2 separate regions of the Homo sapiens genome follow, and region 2 is linked to region 1. Evidence: promoter capture Hi-C in 16 types of primary human blood cells and fetal thymus (Javierre and others, 2016). All regions are on one chromosome and are shown on one strand. Each heading gives the region's core, a stretch centred on a gene start or on the middle of the fragment in contact. The rest is flanking DNA. Distances are from core to core; before and after follow the strand shown.

Region 1 (6,051 bases), core at 1,161-3,660:
TTTCTCTATCTATTAATCAGTTACCAACAAAAACAAGTAGTAAAAATGAAACAAACTAGTGTGGTTCTATAAATGTCTAAAACAATTTGACTATACGAAAAATAGAAGCCTAGGATAATAGGGCAGGAGGTAGAGGGAGTCATTCAGAAATATGCGAAGTCTTTAACAGCTTTAAGTAAACAATTTCAGAACTTGAAAACAATTATCTGAAAAAGTATAAATGAAAATGTTAATCATGTTTTTATATTGCCCAAAAAGTAACAAATAAAATGTTCCCTTTCTAGTTTTAGGAAAACTATGTTCAAACAAAAGAAACTTTTCCTAAAATAAACCTCACCAGACCAGTTTCATATGGCTTTGCTACCTCAGAATTTAAGTCAAAAATCTTAAGGCTAACATTTATACACTTGAATACTTTCTTCCTAAAGCAACTACAAATAGACAACAAAACTACAAATTTAAAACATTTGGGAAGAAAAGCGTTGCATAAACTGACAAAAACCTCCTATACAAACAGCAAATATTTTCAAAAGAATTTTTGATTTCTAGTTCTAGCATACAAGAATATAACTTGTTTGGGTTCAGAATAAAAATATCATGTACATATTTTAGTTCTTATATACTCCTGTGAAAAAACACCCCTTATCTAAAACTGCATCCTCTCATTCCGCATTATTTTTCTTCATAGCATGAACTGATAACTAACATTATAGTATATGCTTAGTTGTTTATTATGTTTCTCCCTTTAGAGCAAGCAGGGACTTTTTGCTCATTAATGTGTTCCAATAACCCAGAATAGTGCCTGGCACACAGTAAATGGTCCATAAGAATGCATTGTGGAATAAATGCATTAGCAAGAACCAGTTTATAAAAATAGTGTCAAATAAAAATAATTTTCTGTTAATTTAGAAACTTAAAATTTGAGCCCCAATCTTCAACGTTCAGTTAAAAAATGTGAAATTTTTTTCTAGTTCAGGATTTATGTAAATAAAATCATGAAGGTTCTAAAAGATGATGAATTTGGCACTTTCATTATGTAAATCTTTTTTTAAAAAAGAAACACAGGTCCTAAAAGGGACCTTGCTACAGTTCAGTATGAGTTTGTGATGTGAGGGGATGCTATTTTAAATTAATTAAAGTTCTAGGTTTAGATTCAGATTTTTTAAGTTCCTATTATTTATTATTAAAGTTTTAGTTTCAGCACGTGGCACAAAATTAGATTGCCAAACACAATAAACAATATCATCCCAGGTAGTTTTAAGTGTCTGCTCTGCTATAATCACTGTTAAAATACTTAAGCTATTTTTGAGTCTACATAATTTGCGGTGCCGACCTTCTCTAGTTATATTAATGACAATCTCTAGTTAAATATTAATACAACTAGATACAATTAATCTTTAGTTATATTAATGACAATTCACCATTTTGTCTTCTGTAATCTTTACTTATTGTATAAAATTATTGTATACAATTATTGTATAAACTTATTGTATAAAATTGCAGGCCTATTACTTCTTACAATTTTTACTCAGAAACATACTCCTTATTTTAAAAGTACAGAAACTCAGATAAAAATTATTGATTTGCTAGAAATTTTTGTGAGTTAAGGAAGAAGTAGGGACCAACATTTACGGGAATAACCGACCGTCACAAATAACTGCAGAGAATCTGACAAAGAAGGAAAAATCAACGGGAACAAATTACTCCGAGGCTCGGCCTGGGAAAGGACCATACAATTGTCGGAGCCCCAGATCTCACCCCCTCTCCCCAGGCACCAACAGGGCTGGCTGGAAGGGTCCGGCTGGGGACCGAATCAGCACCTAAAGCAAAATAACAGCTCTGTGGATTTCCTAAGGAGAATATCCTAAATCCAAGGCAGAGGCCTTAGGGCCCCGAGAGTGGCACAAGAACGGGGCGCTGGGGCGCGTCACTCCACCCCCCGGGTCCCGTTTCCTCCCACCGCTGTGAAACCCGCGGCTCAGACAGATGGGTACGTCCCCCCCAGCGCTCGCTCAGGGGGCGCCACACACCGGAACACAAGACACAGGAACCGAACACCAATCAGCCGACTTTAGGGGCGGGCCGGACGCCCAGCCGGTCCCACCTCGCGGGGAGCTGGGCCCGCCCTGCGCCCGAGCGCGCCGCAGGCCTCACCGCTTTCTGACTGGAAATGCGGCTGAGGCGCTGGCGCGGGCCGGCGGCCTGGAGACGCCTGGTGACCAACAACTCGCCGCGCCCGTCCGCTGCCTGCCCGGCAGACGGCTCTAGAGATCGACCGCTGCCCGGACGGCTCGGCTGGGTCCCCACTTCCCCGCGGGCGTCGGGCCCCCGTCCCCACCTTCCCCGCGGGCGTCCGGGCCCCTCTCCTCACCTCCCTGCGGACAGCTCCTAGGCCAGTCGAGCGCCGATTTATCAGCCCCTCTGAGGACCGCCAAGCCTGGCTAAGCCGAGCTCCAAGCAATGGATCGCCCAAGCCCCCAACCTCTCCCTTCCTACCTTTTTTTCTCCGAAAGTTTATAACTGGTTTTGAATATATCTCTTGCAGTTTACTGTGTCTATTCTCTTTAAATACAGCTCCTAATCCTGGGTTCTAAGGGTCTACTAAATGGTACCCTTTCCCTAAGCTAACCTGCTTCTCTACCCCCACAACCACCACTCCACAAACATACCCCAACCTGCCTTTCTCATCAAAGTTAGCCAGGCCTCAGCTCTGGGACTTCCGGTCTCTTCGTACCTAAAAAGTGTTTTACCTATATTATTTATAAAATATCACAGTGGCACTCATGAGGTCGGTATTACTGGGGAACTTGATTCAGAAATAAAGTTAAATTTCAGAAATAAATATTCTAAAACACAATGATATTTAAATGTGTTTAGCCAACATGAATTTATAAAAACAGGGCAATAATGTGTTCTTAGGCTGTAAACATGAACAAACTATAAATTATCCTTTTAAGTTTCTTTAGAATTGTCCTCTGAAGATTTGGCAGGGAATGTTTTGTAGATGATAAAATAGCAACGAATCAATGATGCTTTTCTTACAGAGACATTTATCTTTCCTTTGGAAACCCCCACCTGTGACATCTAGGGCCAACCTACTGCTGTCTGACTGCCCTATTCCTGTTCTCTTTTTTCTTGCAGTTCTACTGTTCATTAGCTATATGACCTTGGAAAAGACCCAACCTTTAAGTCTTAATTCTGCATCCTCAGTGATACTCATAAGCTCTAACTCCTAGATACTGCTGCAAGGGTTAAATAAAATAATATTTGCAGTAGTCCTACCACACAGTAAATGCTCATGAATATTAATTTCTTTCACCTTCTCTGAAATGTAAAATTATTCCAGTAATTGGGTGAGCCAGTTATTTGGATACTGATAAAATAACAAGTCTTTGTCTCTTGGAGAAAATAACATTTTGACTGCATAAACTATTCTTAATAGAAAGGTTGAATTATCATTCCTCTCAAAAATACTGGAGAGGAAAGTTACTTTCCATAGACTGCATAGAGGAAAATAACGAAACAGTGCATTTGTTATAGTGAACCCCTCAATGTGTTGAAATTCATACATTGAATTCTAACCCCCGATGTGATGATATTTGAACGTGGGACTTTTGTGAGGTAATTAACTCAAAAGGGTAGAGCCTTCATGAGTAGGATTGTGCCCTTTTAAGAGGCCAGAGAGTTAGCTCGCTCTTTTCCTACCATGTGAGGATACAGGAGGACGGTATCTGCAAGCCAGGAAGGAGGCCCTCGCCAAATACCGGATCTGCCTGCACTGTGATCTTGGACTTCTCAGGCACCAAAATTGTGACAAATGTTTGTTGTTTAAGCCACCCAGCCTATGGTAATTTGTTATAGCAGCTTGAACTAAGATAGGGTTTGAGTGATAGAATTGTAGAATTCAGCAACAGGCAGGTACAGGGGAGTCTTACTGTCAAAGCACACAGTAGCAAATGGCCACCATGTTCATAAACAAAAACATTCATTCATTCACTCACTCATTTATTCAAGAATGCATGTGGAATCTATAGAGCCTTACTTTCTCTTAAAATAATGTAATAAAAATGTCAAAGCTGCAGTTTTTAAAAGGAAGCCTCAGGACAGTGATAAAGTTACTAAAAATCCCATTTTGGGGGGAGGGATTACCATGGTTTTTAGTAATGTTGCCACATTTCTCAAGAAAACATTTTAATCCTAAAGATTTAATTTTACAACCAGTGCAACAATGTCATAAGCAATCCTCCAAATTGAATAACATAACTAACATTTGAAATATAGTCTTCCCGGTCAACTTCTGGCATGACTGCATAAAGAGCTTTGCTACCTCACTTCTCAGTGAAACTGGTGAAAATTCTAGAAAAATGACTCAGACCCTCTGGAAATGATCCTAAGGGCAAACAGCAAAAGAAGAAACATCTTTTCAAGAAAGAGATACAAAAATTTGGTAAGAAAGGCAAGGCTCTGTGGTATTTTATCCAAGACTCCCAAGTTCCAGCTTAGCAAGACAGGCTCCATTCTAGACAGCTGCAGCCAAGAATACAGAGCTCTCTCTGCACCCAGCTCCCACTAGAAGGCGCGCTTTCTTTCTTTCATTGTGGTAAAACATGCGTAATATTTATAATTTTAACCATATATAAGTGTATAATTCAGGGACATTAAATACACTCATAGTGTTGTATAACCATCACTCTTATCCATACCCAAAACTTTTTCATTATCCCCAACAAGAAATTTGTGCCCATTCAGGGAGGGGAACTTCACACACTGGGGCCCGTTGGGGGGTGAGGGGCTGGGGGAAGGATAGCATTGGGAGAAATACTTAATGTAAATGACGAGTTGATGGGTGCAGCAAACCGACATGGCACATGTATATCTATGTAACAAACCTGCACGTTGTGCACATGTACCCCAAAACTTAAAGTATAAGAAAAAAAAAAAGAAATTTCTGCCCATTAAACAGGAACTCCTTCTTTTCCCCTTTCCCTAATTCCTGGTAACCTCTATTCTACTTTCTATTTCTATGAGTTTACCTATCCTAAGTACTTCATATAAGTGGGATCATACAATATTTGTTCTTCTATTTCTGGATTATTCACTTAGCATAATGTTTTCAATGTTCATCCATGTTGTAGCATGGATCAGAATTTTACTCCTTTTTAAGGCTCAATAATATTCTATTGTATTTATATACCACATTTTGTTTATCCATTTGTAATCCTGGCTAAGGGACATTTGAGTTGTTTCCACATTTCCACCTTTTGGCTATTGTGAATAATGCTTCTATGAACATTCGTGTGTAAATATCTCCGTTCAAGTCCCTGCTTTCAATTCCTTTGGATATGTACCTAGGAGTGGAATTGCTGGGACATATGGTAATGCTATTACAGCCAATGCCATGAGTTCTAGCTGATGTATCCAACATAACCAAAATTTTCTTCACTTTGTAACATCCACATCTTTTACACCCTGATTAGTCAGTAGAAATTGATATTGAAAAATTAGTCTCAGGCTGGGCAACACAGCGAGACTTCATCTCTACCAAAATTTTAAAAACTAACCAGGTGTGGTGGTGTGTGCCTGTAGTCCTAGCTGCTTGGCAGGCTGAGGCAGGAGAATGGCTTGAACCAAGGAATTCCAGGCTGCAGTGAGCTGTGATCCCACTACTGCACTCCAACCTGGGCAATAGAGCAAGATCCTGTATCTAAAAAAGCAAGAAAGAAAAAAGAAAAATTAGTGTTGATGGCTCTAGAGAAGCAGGAACCAAGAAATGTTGAGGTTTCAAGACTATTTTTCTGCAGATGACAGCCAGAAATGTGTTGTGTTTTTTATTGTCAGATTTGGACAAGAAACAGTGAAGAGATCATTTGGGAAGAATCTGAGAATTACAAAATTAATTTCTGAGAAAAAAACAGAAAAAAAGGAAATAAAGGTAGTTTGATATGATGGGATTCTCAGGAGGAAAGAAAAGTTTAGGGAGTTAGGGCCAATTCAGTAGATACTTAAATAACAAAAGGAAGACTGAATTAAGCACAAACCAAAAAAAAAAAA
Region 2 (6,051 bases), core at 1,211-3,710, 480 kb after region 1:
TACAAGTATGAGTATTCATAGACACATCACACTTATACTAGTATCAAATATGATACATCTGAACTACTACTATACTTGAATATTAACGTAAGCCTCTGAGGAATTCACAGTAATAGAACTGCTGTTATTTAGGATTACTGATCCCCTATTGTCTTGCACTTAGAAGATGTTAATGAAAGATGATGACAGGATTGTGAACACACCAACCTCCCTGAGAACAAATTCATTATATTCAGTTTTCTACAAAACACAAATGAGGATCATTACAAAAGGATTCACAACAAATTCCTCTGGATTTCCATTTCTCCCAGGTAAGTTGAAATATTATTCAAACCACACAAAATTAGTTTACATACAAACTTCACTTTTTAAAGAGATGGGGGTCTCACTATGTTACCCAGGCTGGTCTCGAACTCCTTGGCCAAGTGATCCTCCTACCTCAGCCTCCCAAAGTGTTGGAATTACAGGTGTGAGCCACTGTGCCTGGCCTACACACCACTTAAGGAAACAAATTGAAAAAAAACTATATGTGTGTTTATCTATCTGTCCAGCCACCATGGAGTTCTTGACATATATTCAACATACAGGCCCTGTCCTCAAGGTCATTCTTAATCAGTTCAAATTAAATCTAGTCCTCCATTATAAACTCCAAAAGCAACTTAGTTATTTTGCTAGATATTTTGCCCTCCCCTTTCAAACTATATGTTTAATACTCTAAAAACGGGTTTATGCGCCTTATAGATATCAACAGTGTGTTATGCTCCCCCTATTGACTAATATTCAAAATAACAATGAACTCCCCACGGGTTGCCTTTGAAGTGCTGGGATTCAAAACTATGTTGGTGATTTTTATATTTAAAAACATGAGCTGAATCAACAGTTGTTAGGCAAAGCTGCCGTGTAACGGTCAGATTCCATCAAAACAGGAAAAATTAAAGTTGACAAATGTCAAACTGAAGGGCCAAAAAAAAAAAACGCTCAAGCCTTGAAACACTAAACAATGCAGAAATAAAGCCAAAAGCAAAGAACAGCAAGAAATAGAGCAACATCCTTTAACTGACACAATGGCATGAAATCAATTTCATGTTAATAGCCCTTAAGGGGGTAAGAATTATTTCCCTGCCTCCTGTGCCAACCCCAAGCTGTTTCCTAAGGAAGCCAAGTAATGGTGATCAACAATGTCTGGAGAATTAATAAAAGAAATTAAGAATAAAGATCCATGTTGGCCAGGCGTGGTGGCTCACACCTGTAATCCCAGCACTTTGGGAGGCCGAGGCAGGTGGATCACGAGGTCAAGAAATCGAGACCATCCTGGCCAACATGGTGAAACGCCGTCTCTACTAAAAATACAAAAGTTAGCTGGGCGTGGTAGCGCGCGCCTGTAGTCCCAGCTACTCTGGAGGCTGAGTCAGGAGAAACTCTTGAACCCGGGAGGTGGAGGTTGCAGTGAGCCGAGATCGCACCACTGCACTGCAGCCTGGGGACAGAGCGAGACTCTGTCACCAAAAAAAAAAAAAAATTTCCATGTTAATTAATACAAGTCAGAGTTCTATTTATAATTATTTGGGGCCAGTTTCAGAGGAACTTTAATTGGGCACCCTCATAAGTATGTAAAATCGCCTAAATTCATCACAGATACCTTATGTGTGTTTCAAGAGATATGCGTTCAGCTCAAATAGAAAGCTGAAAGATGGGAGAAGATGCATGGACTATGCACACAAATCTATGTACACACAAATCGGCCTGCACTTGCCGCTCTCCGCTGAGGAAGGAAGGTAGCTTTGGAGTCAGAACTAACAGAAAGTTATGTATGATCTTGGACAAGTAACTTAACCTCTAGTGTCTTATCTGTAAAATAGGGTTATTAATAGTGCTTTTCCCATAGAGATGCTGTGAGGATTAAGTGCACACAGTATGGGCTTAGAAAACGTTAGCTGTTATTATTATCCAAAAGAAACAACTGAGTTCACACTGAAGTAACTGTTTGCACTCTGCATTCAGGAAGAAGAAACGGTCTTGACGTGTGTTTTTACTACCTGTGGAGACTTCTCCCAAACCGCTCACTTCTTCGGAAGGACATAAAACTCAGAATACGCCTGGTTCCCCAGCACAGCCTGTCACTCCTACTATCCTCTGCCCTCGCCGCTCCTATCCTGCCACCGCAGGGCTAGCGGCAAGCAGCGCTAACCTCCGTGCGGTGCTTACTCGGTGCCAAGCACTGTTGTAGCACCTCACACACATTAAATCATTAGATGCTCACAGCAACTTTACGGGGCAAGTACTACTATCCTCACTTCACAGCTAGGGAAATGGAACGGTTTTCTTCTTCCAGCTTTTCGTGAGGACACCAAATCCACTAAGTTCTACTTTGCCAAGGTAATTCATGCTTGACACGTCGGCTCCTGACACTATGCGATTCTGCAAAGCGGGGCAAATGCCCTAATAAGATCAAGTCTGCAAGCAGATTCTTCTAGCGACAGTCCAAGATTTCCAAGTTTGTCCTAACCAAATGAATACAAGAAGAGAGCCTTCAAAATAAACCGGGGCGGGGGGGGGCCGAGCTGCAGCTTGCGGCTCAGCCCGCAAGGCACCCTGAGGGCGCGGCCAGCGGGGAACGCAAACCGCGTCCGTGCACGAGTCCGGGAGCCACAGCCTGGGCCACGGCAATTGACTGCGAACCCACAACAAACCATTCCCACCGAAGCTGTCACGCGCCCGGAGGGAAGTGGCCGCCGCGCCCCGCAGGGGTCAGAAGGACCCGCGGAGAGGAAGAGTGAGGGCGGGCGTGGAGAATTCCTCCCCAGCACTGCGCATCGCCGGGGGCACTGCCTGCCCCGTGCGGCCGCTGCCCACGCACCGCTGGCCACCGGTGCCTGCTCCCCGGAGGGTAAACACCGCCCCACCAGCGCCTCCCTCCCAAGGCCGGAGGTCCTGGCGGCTGGAGCGACCCTGGCCGGTAAGTAGGCACTGGCAGCCCGCGCCGCGCCGACGGGCACCCGCGCAGCCTGCAGAGCCCACAGCCCGGGCGGGCTGCAGCGCCGCGGGGCTGGGCCGGCACGTACCTCGGAGGCGGTGTGTCCAGCGGAGATCCACCCGCAGCAAGTTGGAGGAAAGCGGCGGCAAGTTTCCCCGCCCAGCGCTCGGCGGCGGCGAGCTCCGGCAGCTGCTGCGCCGCGGCAAAACTACGCCATCCGGACCCGCTGGGGACTCTCACCTCCTGCAGGGAGCTCCGGGAATCGCGCAGGGAAAGTGGCCGGGGCGCGAGAGCCGCCGACTGCCCTCCTTCACTCGCTGGGAAGAGGAAAGTGCCGCTCGGCGTCCCCGAAACCCTCGATTACCCCCATCAGGCCGACCCGGCGCACTCGCCCTCCCTCGCACACACGCGGGCGGGGACGGGCAGGACGCCACAGCAATCAGCGCGCGGGGGGAAGGGCGCTCCTCCGCCGGCCCCACCGGGGGCTCTCGGCCGCCCAGAAACTCCTCCTCCCGCCTCCCGCCTCCCGCCTCCTCTCTCCTCCCCCTTTGCCTCCGCGGCTGATGGATGAGCCCCGAATGCTGCTCGAGCCTGTGCTTCCCTTCGGGACGAGGAGGCCGAGAGAGAAGGGGCTAGGGGCGCGGCCGGGCTCAGCGTGCCCGGGTTGGGGCGGCCCCTGTCCTGGGGGAAGCGCGAGGGAGACGTGGGCACGAGCTGCGGGGACTCGCTCCCTCAAACGAGGTCCTTTGAACTTTCCAGGGCTCCCTGGAAGAGTTGGATTTTCATTTGGTTCCTTGGTCTTTATATAAAAGTTCTGAAACCTCAGATAATCTGATCACAGCCTCTTGCCCTCTCCCCAGCAGAGCTCCCCCATGCACACATTCATTCTGTCCCTGTGCTTTTTCCCAACCTCCGGTCCCGCTTGTTGTCACGCTCTGATGGTGGGCGCCGGCGGAGTCTTGCCTCTTCCCCTCCAGCAGCTGAGACTGCATTACCCAGCCGTTCCCCCTGCTAGCTAAATAAATTAATACAAATAATGGAGCTAGGTCAGCATTACCGGCGTTACCCGGAGGTGGGCGCGATATGAACGACAGTCTCGGCGGGGCAACGTCCTAAGTACCTGTGCCTGTGCGACGTCCTAAGTACCTGTGCCTGTGAAGTACACGCTGCAGAAGTTGAACTGCTGGCACCAGAACACCACTCTGATACTCTTGCTTACACCCAGTTTTTCTTATTAAAAAGTATACTTAAGTAACAGGACATTGTTTTACAAACAGGCAGGTGAAATGACCGTGGACTGACAGGTTTCAAAGACCAGACTTCCAGTCCTGACTACTGTGCGACCTTCCACAAATGGCTAACGGCTAATACCCGTCAAGGCTCAGTTCAAATGAAGGGCTTGGCCTAGAAGGCTTCTTCCAGTTCTAAAGGGCTATGGACCTATGCCTTTTTTTTTTTTTTTTTTTTTTTTTTTGAGATGGAGTCTCGCCCTGTCGCCCAGGCTGGAGTGCAGTGGCACAATCTCAATCTCAGCTCGCTACAACCTCCGCTTCTCAGGCTCAAGCGATTCTCCCACCTCAGCCTCCTGAGTAGCTGGGATTACTGACAAATGCCACCACGCCCAGCTAACTTTTTGTATTTTTTGTAGAGGGGGTTGGCAGGGCGGGGGTCTCACTTAGTTGCCCAGGCTGGTCTCAAACTCCTGAGCTCAAGAGATTCGCCTGCCTTGGCCTCCCAAAGTGCTGGGATTAGAGGCGTTAGCCGCTGCACCTGGCTCAATCCTAGGCTTTTAATATGTTGGAGAGTAGAATGAGGAGGCTTCTTATGACATGTTATTTGGAAAGTTATTGAGAGAACAGGAAATATTTCTCGTCCTCTTCCTCTTGTACCTATAGGCAGAGAATCCACCCAATTGCAGAATTGGAGATTCATTCACAAAGGTCAAATGTCATCAGTCACCTGAATTACTGCAAAAATCTCCTCACTGAACCATTTTTTTCCTTACCAATATTCATTGAGCACTGACTATGGGAGAGCCCTGAGTCAGGCATTGGGAATACAAGTAGGCATAATATTCTGAAGGAATAAACAGTCCAGATGGAGCTAGCCTCTGCTTTTATAAAGTCTAAGTTTAAGGCCTTAAGATTTCTCCTAGACTCAAATTAAACAGTATTTGATATGGTTTGGCTGTGTCCCCACCCAAATCTCATCTCGAATTGTAAGTCCCACAATCCCCATGTGTCCTAGGAGGAACCCAATGGGAGGTAATTGAATCTTGGGGATGAGTTTTTCCTGTGCTGTTCTCATGATAGTGAATAAGTCTCACGAGATCTGATGGCTTTAAAAACAGGAGTCTCCGTGTACCAGCTCTCTCTGCCTGCTGCCATCCACGTGATATGTGACTTGCTCCTCCTTACCTTCTGCCATGATTGTGAGGTCTCCCCAGCCATGTGGAACTGTAAGTCCAATAAACCTTTCCTTTGTAAATTGCCCAGTCTCGGGTATGTCTTTATCAGCAGCATGAAAACAGACTAATACAGTATTTATGCCTTGTTAACAAGTTTTAGTTTCAAGTACAGATGTGAACACTTGAACTAGGTGTGAATATTTAATCCCACATTTAAATGCATCGGCCAGGTGAGGTGGCTCATGCCTATAATCTCAGCAATTTGGGAAGCCGAGGTGGGTGGATCACTTGAGGTCAGGAGTTCTAGACCAGCCTGACCAACATGGTGAAACCCCATCTCAACTAAAATACAAAAATTAGCCAGGCATGGTGGCGGGCACCTGTAATCCCAGCTACTTGGGAGGCTGAGGCAAGAGAATCGTTTGAACCCAGGAGGCAGAGGTTGCAGTGAGCTGAGATGGTGCCATTGCACTCTAGCCTGGACAAGAGCAACACTCTGTCTCAAAAAAATAAAATTAAATTAAATGTATCAATCATGTTAAGGCCTTCTAAATAAAATGGCCTGGTAGATAATTTAGGAGTGTCTTGTCTTTAAAGAGTGATGAAGTGACTGGTCCCCGTAGAGCCAGATTCACAACAGTAACCATCAACATCTGAGCCAGCGTGGGTA

The links. The method cuts DNA at HindIII sites, captures the fragments that hold promoters and counts their contacts. A CHiCAGO score of 5 or more calls a contact.
Region 2: a contact is called between a fragment that was not itself captured here and the fragment with the promoter of HFM1 in region 1, in 1 of 17 cell types (monocytes). The highest score is 5.0, in monocytes.

Annotation. Positions count from the first base shown.
Region 1 is chr1:91,402,427-91,408,477 of GRCh38, forward strand. It overlaps HFM1 (helicase for meiosis 1), which reads right to left and starts at 2,411. Exons shown (of 39, transcript NM_001017975.6): 1 at 2,372-2,411. RefSeq lists a silencer at 2,006-2,385. The HindIII fragment of the contact is 14,376 bases long and covers 1-6,051 here.
Region 2 is chr1:91,882,816-91,888,866 of GRCh38, forward strand. It overlaps TGFBR3 (transforming growth factor beta receptor 3), which reads right to left and starts at 3,336. Exons shown (of 17, transcript NM_003243.5): 1 at 3,063-3,336. RefSeq lists enhancers at 2,144-2,907, 2,908-3,670 and silencers at 2,813-3,022, 3,033-3,112, 3,463-3,602. The HindIII fragment of the contact is 8,259 bases long and covers 1-6,051 here.